Regions from separate parts of the Homo sapiens genome. Here region 1 is linked to region 2. The links are contacts of gene promoters, found by promoter capture Hi-C in human tissues and cell types (Jung and others, 2019). All regions are on one chromosome and are shown on one strand. The core of a region is centred on a gene start or on the middle of the fragment in contact, and the rest is flanking DNA. Distances in the headings are between cores, read along the strand shown. Region 1 has its middle 54 kb from the start of NDST1. Region 2 holds the start of ANXA6 (annexin A6).

Evidence for each region. Contacts are between HindIII fragments. The study calls those that stand out against the background at their distance.
Region 1: a fragment that was not itself captured here is called in contact with the fragment with the promoter of ANXA6 in region 2 in 1 of the 25 tissues and cell types used here (liver).

What each region holds. Positions count from the first base shown.
Region 1 is chr5:150,558,568-150,565,315 of GRCh38, forward strand. No RefSeq gene overlaps it. Among named protein-coding and RNA genes, the nearest start is that of NDST1, 54 kb to the left of the region's middle. The HindIII fragment of the contact is 9,022 bases long and covers 1-6,748 here.
Region 2 is chr5:151,156,529-151,163,422 of GRCh38, forward strand. It overlaps ANXA6 (annexin A6), which reads right to left and starts at 1,251. Exons shown (of 26, transcript NM_001155.5): 1 at 1,152-1,251. RefSeq lists an enhancer at 1,412-2,268 and a silencer at 2,064-2,123. The HindIII fragment of the contact is 14,536 bases long and covers 1-5,552 here.

The DNA.
Region 1 (6,748 bases), core at 2,552-5,051, 600 kb before region 2:
TGGGGGCAAGCCACTTTTACTGTTTTATCCCATTTCCCTCACCTTTTAGACGCATGGAGGGAGTTGGACTCCATGGCCTCACTTGAAGAACTTGCCTAAAACATGCAGATTCCCAGGTCTACTTCCAGAGATTCAGCTCCAGCAGATGTGGGGTGGGGCCCAACATCTTTAAGGAGCCCTCCAGTACACTGAGGAATTTATAAGGAGCCCTCCAGTACACTGAGGCAGCCCAGTGTAACTCTGGCTCAGAGTGGGAAACTCTGACTCAGATCCATGGTTCCTATGGGTTCTAATTAATACGGAGAGCCCCACTGTCCAGGAAAACTTAGGGTAAAACAAATGACTGAAGCCCTCACAGCCTAATTGAGGGCCAGACTCGAGATTTGCCTGGAGAAGGAGAGTTCACAGGTAGGGGCCCAGGCCAGTGTCTGCAATGCAGGTGATCAGACATGCTCCTTCAGAATCCCCTTGGGAAGCTTTAAACAATATACATTCCTGGGCTCCCCCAAAATCTGCTCACTCAGAACCTCTGGGGTGGGACCCAGCACTGTGTACTTTAACAGACTCCTTGGTGTTCAGGGAAGTTTGGGAACACTGAATCAGGCCACCATGTTTGTCAGAGACGGTACCCAGAAATGTGCACAGCTTCTGAGGGACAGAGGAGGGGCATGCTGGGGACACAGCTGGGCAGTCCTGCTTCCCAGGACCCAGTATGTTCAAAGTGAAATACCACAGTGCCACCTCTGATGGCACAAGGGCAGCACCTGCAGAGCCCTCTTTGCAGTTCGTCAGCTGGGAGCTTGGTTTGGGTCAGGTGGCCCTCACCAGCAAGAACACAGCTGGAGGCTGCATGGACAAGAGCAGATCCAGAGGCATGGTGCAGAAAGGTGACTGTGCCAACTGAGGGGTCAGCCTGCAACAGGGATTTTTGAATTTACATACAGCTGAGATTCTGTTTTGAAAGAATCACTTAATTGAAAACCAGGTAAAGGTGGGGGTGCTCTGTGGTTGGAGTGGGAGTGAAGCTCTGGACTCTTCCCAGCTCACCTCCTCCCTGTCTCTCAGGCTATCTTGGAACCCTAAGATTTCTCAAAACACATTGTGAAAACCCAGCCCAGTTGCTTCCAGAGGTCCTAAAAGTCCTGCAGTTCTAATAGGCTGAATGAGTAGCAGCCCATCAGCCCCTCCTCACCCCCCACGGGGATGTCCACCCAGTAAATCTGGTGCCCCAGGAGTGGTTTGGGCTTCTAGAGGTGGGGAGTTACCTTGGAGAAGCCTGGATCATGCGTGTAGGGCAGTGTGTTTCACAATAGGAAAACGCTGGGAACAACCTAGATGTCCATCCACAGGGTCTCAGCTAGGTAACCTCCAGTGTATCCATTCACTGTAATGATGATTCAGTTGAAAGTAATGAGCTCAGTCTCCAAGCCCTGCCAGGGAAATTTCTATGACAGACTTATACAATGTGACCATCATGGAAAGAGAACACTACAGTTTGTATTTTTCCTGGGGTTGTAGATAGACGTCTCATATCAAACTGATACTAGGGGAGGAAAGACTGAGAAGGGGAACTTTCAAAGGAGACTTCAGCCTTGGCTGAAATATATATAAGACAAGGATAATGCATTTGCATATCATTTGTGGAATGAAAAAGTCTTAATGAAAAATAGAAATGGACAAAGCAGAAAGGGGGACTCCAAGCAGCTAGACTTACATGACGATGCGATGAAGGCCAACACTGCTTTACCCAGCCCTTAAGCTCCTATGGAGTTAGGATCTGGAGGAGGCCTAGGTGCCGGTGATCAATTTCTTGCCTGGCTGCATTTATCCTAAGCATTCGTGAAGACCCTGAGCTGAGGATCCTGACTTTCCTGTGACTGTAGGCCAGTCTCAGCTCCTCTCTGGCCCTGGGAGCTTAGCTTCCCCAAGCTGACAGACGGGGGAGCTAGGGTTAACATCACCATTGCTGGAACAAATTGACACCATGTCTCCCGATATGATGCAATGGGAAGGACCCAGTGCAACACCTGGGAAATTCCTAACGAAAACACGGGACATGAATCCAGCCAAGGGGAACAGACAGACACATCCGTATTGAGGGACATTTTGCAAAATAACTGGCTTGAACTCCAACAATGTCAAGGTGATGAAAGATACAGAAAAGCTGAGAAATGGTTCAGGATTAAAGGATACTAAAGAGATGTGGTAATCAAATGCCATGTGTGACCCTGGAGGGGTCCTGGACCATGAAACAATTAGCTATAAAGGATACCATAGGGACACCTAGCAGAATGTCAGGATGGACCGTGTGGATTAGATAATACTATTCAACCGATGTTCAATTTTCTGGTTTTGATTATTTTACTGTTATGTAAGAGTATCTAATGAAGTACATGTGAGATATTAGTTTTTTGAAATTACTTTTGCACCAACCTAATATTTAGGGGTAAAAAGGAAGAAATGGAACTGAATTTTGACTCCTGTTCTTTCTCTAGTGGTACTAGATGGTAGGTACTCATCAGATGCAGTCCAAAAGATGTCCACCAGGGGGCACTATTATCCTAGCCTCTCACAGTGTAGTCAGCGCGAATGCCTCCCGGGAAGACTGGGCTGGTGGTTAATGGTGGTGGGGCAATAATATTATCAATATTAACATCAATAAATTAAATAATATAAATAAAAAGTATTTCTTATCCTGTCAGGCAGACCCTCTGCTTATCAAGTGCTATCTTTAAAATTTTTTCTTTTTGTGACAGTGTCTCACTGTGTCACCCAGGTTGGAATGCAGTGATCTCGGCTCACTGCAGCCTCAAGCTCCTGGGCTCAAGCCATTCTCCCACCTCAGCCTTCTGAGTAGCTGGGATTACAGGCATGCACCACCACGCCAGGCTAATTATTTTGTATTTTTTGTGAAGATGGGGTTTTGCCATGTGGCCCAGGCTGGTCTTGAACTCCTGGCCTCAAATGATCCTCCTGCCTCAGCCTCCCAAAGTGCAGGGATTACAGGCATCGGCCACCTTGCCCGGCCTCTTTTAATCTTCATAACAATCCTCTGAGGTAGGTATTATCATTCCCATTGTATATTTGAGGAATTTGAGTTCAGAGAGGTTAAGTAACTCTGTCAGGATCACAGAGCTGGTAGTCATTGATCCATGAGACTCCACAGCCTGGAGTCCACTAGGCTGTCCTGCCCCCTGGGCCTGAGGCTGGGAATGTGTCCTGGCACAGGGAAATGCCATGACCATGAGGCAGAGTGGGGACAATTCCCCGAGCCTGGCTCTGCCCTTTTCAGGGCTGGGGACTGGGTGATCCTGGGAAGCTGTTAAAGGTGCCTAACAGTATGTGTACCTACAAATCTAAAACAGAAGTACAAACAGGGAATGGTGTGAGATGTATGTCTCCTTCCACTCCCTGACCTTTGTCCTCCAACTCACTTCTTCAGAGGAAACCACCATTAGCAGTTTCTGTGGATCTTTCCAGAAATTGTTTTACATATACAAACAGTTGCGTGAGCATGCACACCCTGCTGGTGTGTACCCTCAGGCTATTCTGCACTGTGCTTTTCCATGGGGGCCTCTGGTCAGTGGGTGGAGGGTATTTACTGCTCTGCATGGCAGCAGAGGGCTCCTCTGCATGGGTAATTGGTGGAGGGTGTCTGTTGCTCTGCATGGCAGCAGATGGAGGGCTCCTCTGCATGGGTACTTGGAGAAGCTCTGCTCTATTACACCTTTCAGGGAGTGGGGGTAAAAACTGGAGCTTGAATTCCTTGGCCTTTGCCCCATTCTGGGGTGTTCTCCCTTGGGAAGGAATAGGCTGTGCAGCACAGTAGTCAAAATATGCACAGCCGGGTAGATCTGGTTTCAAATACAGGCTCAGTGTTGGCTGTGTGACCTTGGTCAAGTAATTCATGTCTCTGAGCCTCAGTCTTTGCTTTTGTGAAGTGGGGATAGTCACAGGACTGAGGTGACAGAGATGTTGTGAGGAGTGAAGAGACAGTGTCTGGAAAGCCCTCAGCAGGAGCCTGCTACACAGTGAGTGCTCAGTAAAGTCTCTGCCAGTTCCTGGTTTCACACACATACAGACCCCATTTCTGAGCCTGAGCCTGGGGGTGGCACTGCCACCTTTGTCCTGAGGCAGATGAGGATGGGCTGAGGAGTCAAGTGGCCCACTCAATGTGGAAACTCATTACATTTGATTGTTCTTCCTGGGACCTTGAAATGGAAGTGGTGGGTGATCTGAGGCGCTGAGAATGACCCTTCAAAACACACACACATAACACCAACTTCACAGGAAAACAAGGAACATGAGAGACTGCTATAAGCAGCTGCACGTTAAAAAATCAGATGCTCTAGATGCAATGGACAAATTCCTAGAGACACACAAACTACCAAAACTGACTCAAGAGGAAATAGAAAATCTGAATAGGCCTGTAACAAGTCAGGAGATTGAATCGGTAATCAAAAAACTCCCAGCAAAGAAATGCCTACCACCAGGTGGCATCATTGGTGAATCCTACAAAACATTTAAAGGAGAATTAACATCAATCCTTCTCTTAAATTCTTACCAAAAATCTAAAGAGGAGAGAACATTCCCAACTCATTCTATGAGGCCAAGCATTACCTTGATACTGAAACTAAGACTCTACAAGAAAAGAAAATTGCAGGCCAGGCGTGGTGGCTCACACCTGTAATCCCAGCACTTTGGGAGGCTGAGGCAGGTGGATCACCTGAGGTCAGGAGTTCAAGACCAGCCTGGCCAACATGGCAAAACCCCATCTCTACTAAAAATACAAAAATTAGCCAGGCATGGCAGCATGCACCTGTAATCCCAGCTACTCGGGAGGCTGAGCCAGGAGAATCGCTTGAACCCAGGAGGCGGAGGTTGCAGTGAGCCAAGATTGCGACAGTGCAGTCCAGCCTGGGTGATAAGGCGAGACTCCATCTCAAAAAACAAAACAAAACAAAAAAATTATATGCCATGATCAAGTGGGTTTTATCCTAGGAATGCAAGGGTGGTTCAACATATGAAAATCAAAGTAATGTACCACATTATTAGAATGAAGGGGGAAAAAACCACATGATCATCTCAATTGATGCAGAAAAAGCATCTGACAAAATCCAACACCCTTTCATGATATAAACGCTTATCAAACTAGTACTAGAAAAGAACTCTTTCAACATGATAAATGCCATATGTGAAAAACTCACAGCTAACATAACTTTTTTTTTGAGACAGGATCTCACTCTGTTGCCCAGGCTGGAGTGCAGTGGCACAGTCGTGGCTTACTGCAACCTCGACCTCCCAGGCTCAAGCGATCCTCCCACCTCAGCCTCCCAAATTGCTGGGACTACAGGCACGTGCCACGCCTGGCTAATTTTTTATTTTTGTTGTAGAGACAGGGTCTCGCCATGTTGCCCAGGCTGGTCTAGAACTCCTGGGCTCAAGTGACATAATTCTTAATGGTGAAAAACTGAAAGCATTTCCCCTAGGATGAGGAACAAGACAAGGATGTCTGTTTTCATAACTTCTAGTTAAGATTAGAAACTTATACTCAACACAATACTGGAAGTTCTAGCCAGAGCAATTAGGCAAGAAAAAAACAAAAGGCATCCAAATTGGAAAGAAAGAAGTAATACTATCTCTATTTATAGATGACATGATCTTAATGCCTAGAAAACCCAAAAGAATTCATACACATACACAAACTATTAGAGTTAATAAGTGAATTTTGCAAAATTTCAGGATACAAAATCAATACACAAAATCCATTGAATTTCTATACACTATAATGAACAATCCAAAAAGGAAGTTAAGAAAACAATTCTACTTATGATAGCATCAAAAAGAATAAAATATAGGCTGGGCGTGGTGGCTGACACCTGTAATCCCGGAACTTTGGGAGGCCGAGGCGGGTGGATCACCCAAGGTCAGGAGTTTGAGATCAGCCTGGCCAACATGGTGAAACCCCATCCCTACTAACAGTACAAAATGAGCCGGGTGTGGTGGCACATGCCTGTAATCCCAGCTACTTGGGGGGCTGAGGCAGGAGAATCATCTGAACCCTGTAGGTGGAGGTTGTGGTGAGCTGAGATCATGCTGCTGCACTCCAGCCTAGGCAACAAGAGGTAAACTCTCTCTCAAAATAATAATAATAATAATAATAATAATAATAATAATAATAATAATAAATATATAGGAATAATTTAATCAAGGTGGTGAGAAACTTGAATACAGAAAACTATAAAACATTTCTTGAAGAAATTAAAGATCTAAATGAATGGAAAGACATCCCATGTTTGATTAGAAGACTTAATATTGTTAAGGAATATACAGATTTTTTGCAATTCCTATCAAAATCCAATAGGTTTTTTTCCAGAAATGAAAAAAAAAATTCCTAATATGAAAATTCCTAATATTCATATGGAATTTCAAGAAACTCAGAATAGCCAAAACAATCTTGAAAAAAAATGACGCAGTTGTAGGATTCATGCTTTCTGATTTCAGAACTTACTGCAGGCCAGGCACGGTGGCTTACACCTGTAATCCCAGGACTTTGGGAGGCCGAGGTGGGTGGACCATCTGAGATTGGGAGTTCGAGACCAGCCTGGCCAACATGGCAAAACCCCGTCTCTACTAAAAATACAAAAATCAGCTGGACGCGATGGCGCGTGCCTGTAGTCCCAGCTACTTGGGAGGCTGAGGCTGGAGAATCACTTGAACTCGGGAGGCAGAGGTTACAGTGAGCCGA
Region 2 (6,894 bases), core at 1-2,500:
CATGTTTTGGGCAAGGGGGAAGGAATAATGGAGGGAAAAGGGCGGACTCTTGGGGGGAAACCAGAGTCCTTTCACAAACCCGGGAGCCATATGTCCAAATTTGGAATTGTCAGAGAAGACCCACTAGAATCTAGGGAAAGGAAGGAGGAGGCAGGAAGCCGTGGCCAGATTAGTTGTCCCAAAGGACCTCCTGCCCTTTCCCCTTGTAGGGCCTACAAGGGTTGTGCCAGGCTTCCCAAATCTATAATCAAGACTCCCAAACCTGCAATCATTCCATACAGCTGACAAATAAATCAGTTTTCAAAGCCATTGTTTCCTTTGAAAGAGACTGGGTTTCTCAACTATGGACTTGGAGAAGGAAATCCAGGCTCAGAGAGGGAAAGCCACCGCCCAAAGTCACACTGCAACAGGGGCTGGGATTCCGATTCAGGGTATTTTGCTCCCATGCTGGTATATGGGGAATTATTTGAAGCCCCCAAACTTTGGGAAGGCCTAGACCGCTTAGGGGATGCAGAAAGAAGGGTAGTGCCCCTGCCTCACCATAGGAGGCCTCGGAGCCCCGTTGGGAGACTGCATTCATAGACAAGCAGTGGCCCAAAGGGGATGGGGTCCAATGAGGCCCTGAGGTATGTACGACCGGACGTTCAGCTCTCTGCACGCAGGCAGCCCTCCCCCGACACCACACACAAGCCATTTTATAAGCAGCTGGAGGGTCCAACGCTCTTGCTCTCAGTCTTGGGCCTCAGCCACACCCTTCTCTGCGGGTCCTTTGACTGGCGTCCAGCTGACCCCAACCCCGGACCTTCAAAGTCTCTTGAGCCCCCCCAAATTAAGGCCGGCAGGACCAGCCCCTGGCTCAGCTCCGGCGCCCAGGACCCTCAACCAGACCCTCTGCAGCAACGGGACTCCCTCCCCTCCCCCTAGCCAGGGCGCCCTCCGCCCGCGCCTCTCCGCCCCGACCCCAGATTTGCTCCGCTGCGCTCCCCAGACACACCCAGTCTGCGACACTCTCGGGTTACCGCGCCCTCCCGTCCCTGCTCCTGGCGGGGGGTACCCATCAGCCGATGACTGGGCGCTTATTTCTTGTGTCCCTGCAGCCCCCGGGAAGGGGTTCCCAGAGCGACTCCCCTCTCCAGCCTCAGCCCACTCACCGCGCAGCGGAGGCCTCGGGTCGCAGACGGACGCACGGGCGCAGGGACTCGAGGACGCAGCGCTCGCTGGATCGGAGCCCGTTAGCCCAGCAGCAACCGCAGCGCGGGGCGGACCGGGAGGACAGCCGTGGGCTCCGAGCCGGACACGTGGCGCGCAGAGGCCAATCCGGCGCGCCCGCCTCCCTCCTCCACCCCACCCCTCTAGCTCCTTAGCTCTTGGAATCTTAGAATGTCACTAGCCCGAGGGGCTTGCCGGGAGAACCTCCTCAGTTTCCAGCCCCCGGATCTGAGACTGAGAAGGATTAGGGGCTTTGGCCAAGGTCACGCGGCCCTTCAGGGCTAGAAGTCAGGGCTCCTGACTCCGGGTTCTGGACACTTTCCCGCAAATTCTTATAAGTCGCCAAAGCTTTGTTGAGAAACAGAAAATTGAGGTTTGCCAGGGGCACTTTATCTGCCTGATCAGATTCCATGCCTCAACAGCCTCATTAGGTCGGTGACATTATTTACCCACTTTCAGGAGGAGAGCCCAGTCCAGTTCCTGGACCAAGGTCACACAAATAGTGGGTTGCGGAGGCAAGCTTCTTCGTGCTCTGGGAAGCAGGGAAGGCAGGCAGGGAGACCAGCAGTTGTAATCCAGCGCTAGAACAGGAAAAATTGATAAACTGAGAATACAGAGGAAACTGAGAATTATTGTCCCCAGGGGATTGGTAAGGAGAAGATGAGGAAGTTAGAAGAATTGGACAGATACCTGCGGAAAGTGTTCCAGGCAGAGGAAACTGCTGGAGCAAATGCTCCTAGCAGGAGGCCACCTGGCGCCTCCGAGGATCAGCAGGGGGGCCAGTGTGGCTGGAATGGAGTGAGTGGGAGGGAGAGGAGAGATAAGAGGGACCCAATCAGGTGGGACCTCCGGGGCCCTTGAAGGCACGCTGTCTTTTACTCTGAGTCAACTGGGGATCCATTGCAGGATATTGAGCAAAGAAAGGGTATTATTTTTGGGTAGATGAAATCCACACAACATAAAATTAACCATTTTAAAGTCAACAATTCAGTGGCATTTTGTACAGACACAATGTTGTGTATCCACCACCTCTATCTAGTTCCAAAATATTCTCTTCACGGAAAAATAAAACAGTATACCCACTGAGCAGTCACTCCTAACTTTCCCTTACCCCTCGTCTCTGGCAACCACCAATTTGCTTTCTGCTTCTGCGGATGTGCCTATTCTGGATATTTCATATACATGGAATCACATGAGATGCAACCCTTCTTGTCTGACTTCTTTCATGTGGCATTTTGTTTGTTTGTTTTTGTTGTTGTTTTTTCACTCTTGTCGCCCAGGCTGGAGTGCAGTGGCGTGATCTCTGCTCACCACAACTTCTGCCTCCTGGGTTCAAGCAATTCTCCTGCCTCAGCCTCCCGAGTAGTTGGGATTACAGGCATGCGCCACCACACCCAGCTAATTCTGTATTTTTAGTAGAGACGGGGTTTTTCCATGTTGGTCAGGTTGGTCTTGAACTCCCGACCTCAGGTGATCCACCTGCCTCGGCCTCCCAAAGTGCTGGGATTACAGGCGTGAGCCACCGTGCCTGGCCTCATGTGGCATGTTTTTGAAGTTCATCCACACTGTAGCATGTATCAGCACTCCATTCCTTTTTTTTTTTAGTTTCAGTTGGAGTTTTGCTCTTGTTGCCAAGGCTGGAGTGCAATGGCGTGATCTCGGCTCACTGCAACCTCCACCTCTCAGATTCAAGGAATTCTCCTGCCTCAGCCTTCCGAGCAGCTGGGATTACAGGCATGCACCACCACGTGTGGCTAATTTATTTTTGTATTTAGTAGAGATGGGGTTTTACCATGTTAGTTAGGCTGGTCTCGAACTCCTGACCTCAGGTGATCCACCCGCCTTTGCCTCCCAAAGTGCTGGGATTACAGGCATGCGCCACCGTGTCCGGTCCAGCACTCCATTCCTTTTAATGGCTGAATAATTTTCCGTTGTATAAGTACACTATAATTTGTTTATCCATCCATCTGTTGATGGATAGTGCATTGTTTCCCCCTTTTGCTGATTGTGAATAGTGCTGCTAATGAACATTTGCATACAAATACTTATTTGAGTACCTGTTTTCAATTGTCGTTGTGTATTTACCTAGGAATGAAACTGCTGGGTCATATAGTAATTCTACATTTAAGTTTTTGAGGAACTGCCAAACATTTTTTCAGAGTGGCTGCAACATTTTATATTCCCATCAGCCATGTCATGTATGAGGCTTTTAATTTCTCCATGTCCTTGCCAACACTTGTATTTTATTTTTTAAAAATTTGTACCCGGCCAGGCACAGTGGCTCATGCCTGTAATGCCAGTACTTTGGGAGGGCCGAGGTGGGTGAATTGCTTGAGCCCACGAGTTTGAGACCAGCCTGGACAACATGACGAAACCGCATCTCTACAAAAAATTAACCAGGGGTAGTGGCACATGCCTGCAATCCCAGCTACTGGAGAGGCTGAGGTGGGATGATCCCTTGAAGCTGGAAGGTAGAGGCTGCAGTGAGCCGTGATTGCACCACTGCACTCCAGCCTGGGCGACAGAGTGAGAACTTGTCTCAAAAAAACAAAAGTACAAAAAACTTGTGCTCTAGTCATTATGAAATGGCATCTATAATTGTGTTTTTGATTTGCATTTCCCTTCTGACTAATGATGTGGAGTATCTTTTTTGTGTGCTCATTGGCCACTATTTGTACATCTTCTTTGGAAAAATATCTAATCATGCTTTTTGCTCATTTTTAAATTGGATTTTTTGTCTTTTTTGTTGTTAAGTTATATGAGTTCTTTTTATATTCTGGATAAGACTTTTGTGTTTGTTTGAGACAGAGGCTCGTTCTGTTGCCCAGGCTGGAGTGCAGTGGTGCCATGTCGGCTCACTGCAACCTTCACCTCGTGGGTTCAAGCAATTCTTTCCGCCTCAGCCTCCCAAATAGCTGGGATTACAGGCACCTGCTACCATGCCCAGTTAATTTTTGTATTTTTTTAGTAGAGACGGGGATTCATCATGTTGGCCAGGTTGGTCTTGAACTCCTGACCTCAGGTGATCCACCTGCCTTGGCCTCCCAAAGTGCTGGGATTACAGGTGTGAGCCACCGCACCTGGCCAAGACATATTTTTTAAAGGGTCACTGAAGTCTCCTGTGTTGGAAATACTGAATACTGTTGGGGGAAGAGTAGAAGAAGGGGATCTGCTAGGAGATTTTGCAGTAATCCAGGCAAGAGACAGGCTGGTATAAATGCAGGTGGGGGAAGTGGTTGGAGATGGGATGTATTTGAAGGTTGAACATGATTTCCGAAGGATCAGGTGGGAGATGAGAAAGAGTCAAGAATGGCTTCAGGGATCCTGGCCTGAGCCACTGGAAGGATGGAGTTACCATCAACTGAAATGAGCAAGACTGCAGGGAAAGCAATTTTGGGAATTAGAAGTGGGGAAAAGATCAGGAGTTCAGTTTTTGACCAGTTTGTTGAACATTTCTATTAGACACCCAACAGGAGATGTCAAGTACGCAGTTGGCTAGTCAAGTCTGGAGTTCAAGAGATGAGATCCTTAAGGGAGAAGAGAACTAAATATGGAGTCCTAGTTCGGCAAAAGGAGTCAGGCTGGCAGGACCAAGGGAAAGCAAAAAGAGAAAGCAGATAAGCTATAAGTCTGCCTTTCTTCATGGCCCAGGATGCATAGCCCTCCTGTGCGAATAACTCACAATCTTATCTGCGCCCAGCTATTGCCAGACCCTCACCTGATAGAAAAATGCACGCAAGCTCCCTGCACCCTTGATGTTATCAGTACTGCACAAAGCCCTCTTCAGCACACAGCACAAGCACCATCCTATAAAATCCTTAGCCAGATTTTGTTTTCTTGCAGTTAGCTTCTGTTTTGCTAACTTGCCCGTTGCACCCTTGCAACGTATTTTCTTTTCTTTTCTGTTTTTCTTTTGAGATGAAGTCTCACTCTGTCGCCCAGACTGTAGTGCAGTGGCACTATCTCGACTCACCACAACCTCCGCCTCCCGGGTTCAAGCGATTCTTCTGCCTTAGGCTCCTGAGTAGCTGGGATTACAGGTGCGTGCCACCACACCTGGCTAATATTTGTATTTTTAGTAGAGATGGGTTTTCACCATGTTGATCAGGCTGGTCTCAAACTCCTGACCTCGTGATCCACCTCGGCTTCCCAAAGTGCTGGGATTATAGGCATGAGCCACCACGTCTGGCAGCAATGTATTTTCATACTTTCTCTAATAAATCTGCCTTTCTTTACCTACAACTGCCTTGGTAAATTCTTCTTACTGCCTGTACCGCCAGCCCCAAATAGTTGCTGATCACCCACGATGCTAAGGACCGAGTCTGAGACACTCTTATGTTACCATTTGGGGAGAGGCCGGACCCGGTGGCTCATGCCTGTAATTCCAGCACTTTGGGAGGCTGAGGTGGGTGGATCACTTGAGGCCAGGAGTTCAAGACCAGCCTGACCAACATAGTTAAACCCCATCTCTACTAAAAATACAAAAAGTTAGCTGGACGTGGTGGTGCATGCTGTAATCCCAGCTACTTGGGAGGCTGAGGCAGGAGAATCACTCCCAGGAGGTGGAGATTGCAGTGAGATGGCACCATTGCACTCCAGCCTGAGAGACAGAGTGAGACTCTCAAAAAATAAAATAAAAGAGTTGGGGAGAAGAAAAGAATTCAGCAAAGGTGACTGGGAAGGAGATTGTAGTAAGATGGGAGGAAACTACCCCAGGAGAATGTGGCAGCAAAGTGAAAAATAAGGGAGTGATCAGGTGTGTCAAATGCTGCTTTTAGGTAAAGTAGGACAAGGTCTACAAATCTATCATTGGGTTTAGCAATGTGAAAGCCAACTTATCTCTTGCTGTGAATTGCAGAATGTTGGGGGTAAAGGCCTGATGGGAACGGTGTAAGATAAAAAGCCTAAACTACTTATTCTGGGAGTTTTGCTGCGAAGGCCAGCAAGGGAATGAGGCAGTGTCTGGCAAGGGAATTGGTGTCAAGAGAAGGGCTTTTGTTTGATTTTTTTAAAGATTGAAGACATAACAGCATATTTGTATGCTGGTGGGAGTTATCATATAGAAGGTAAAAAAATTGATGGAGGAGAGAGAAGGGAGAATTCCTGCAGCAATGTTTGGAGACAGAATGGGCTGTAGTGTACAAATGTCAGGGCTATTTGTATTCTTAATTTGCAATAAAAGTAACTGAAATTTTTGATCTTTGCCCAAATTCAGCCCACGTGACTGAGGCAGGATTGAAAGCCAGATTCCCTTGACTGCAGAGCCCAGGGCCTTAATTCCTGAGCTACAGCAGCAAGTAGGAGTAAACACTAATATACTGCTCATTCTCTTTGAGCTAATCATCACTTACAGGAATCAATCCTAAGAAAATAATCTAAAATACAGAGGAAGCTGTAGGCCCAACACTGTTTTATTGTTGTTGTTGGAGACAGGGTCTCACTCTGTCACTCAGGCTGGACTGCAGTGGTGTGATCATGGCTCAACTGCAGCCTTGACCTCCCCAGGATCAGGTGATCCCCTCACCTCAGCCTCCCAAGTAGCTGAGACTACAGGTGTATGCCACCTGCCCAGCTAATTTTTGTATTTTTTGTAGAGATGGCGTGTCACCATCTTGCCTAGGCTGGTCTCCTATGCTCAAGCCATCCTCCTGCCTCAGCCTCCCAAAATGCTGGGATTACACCAGC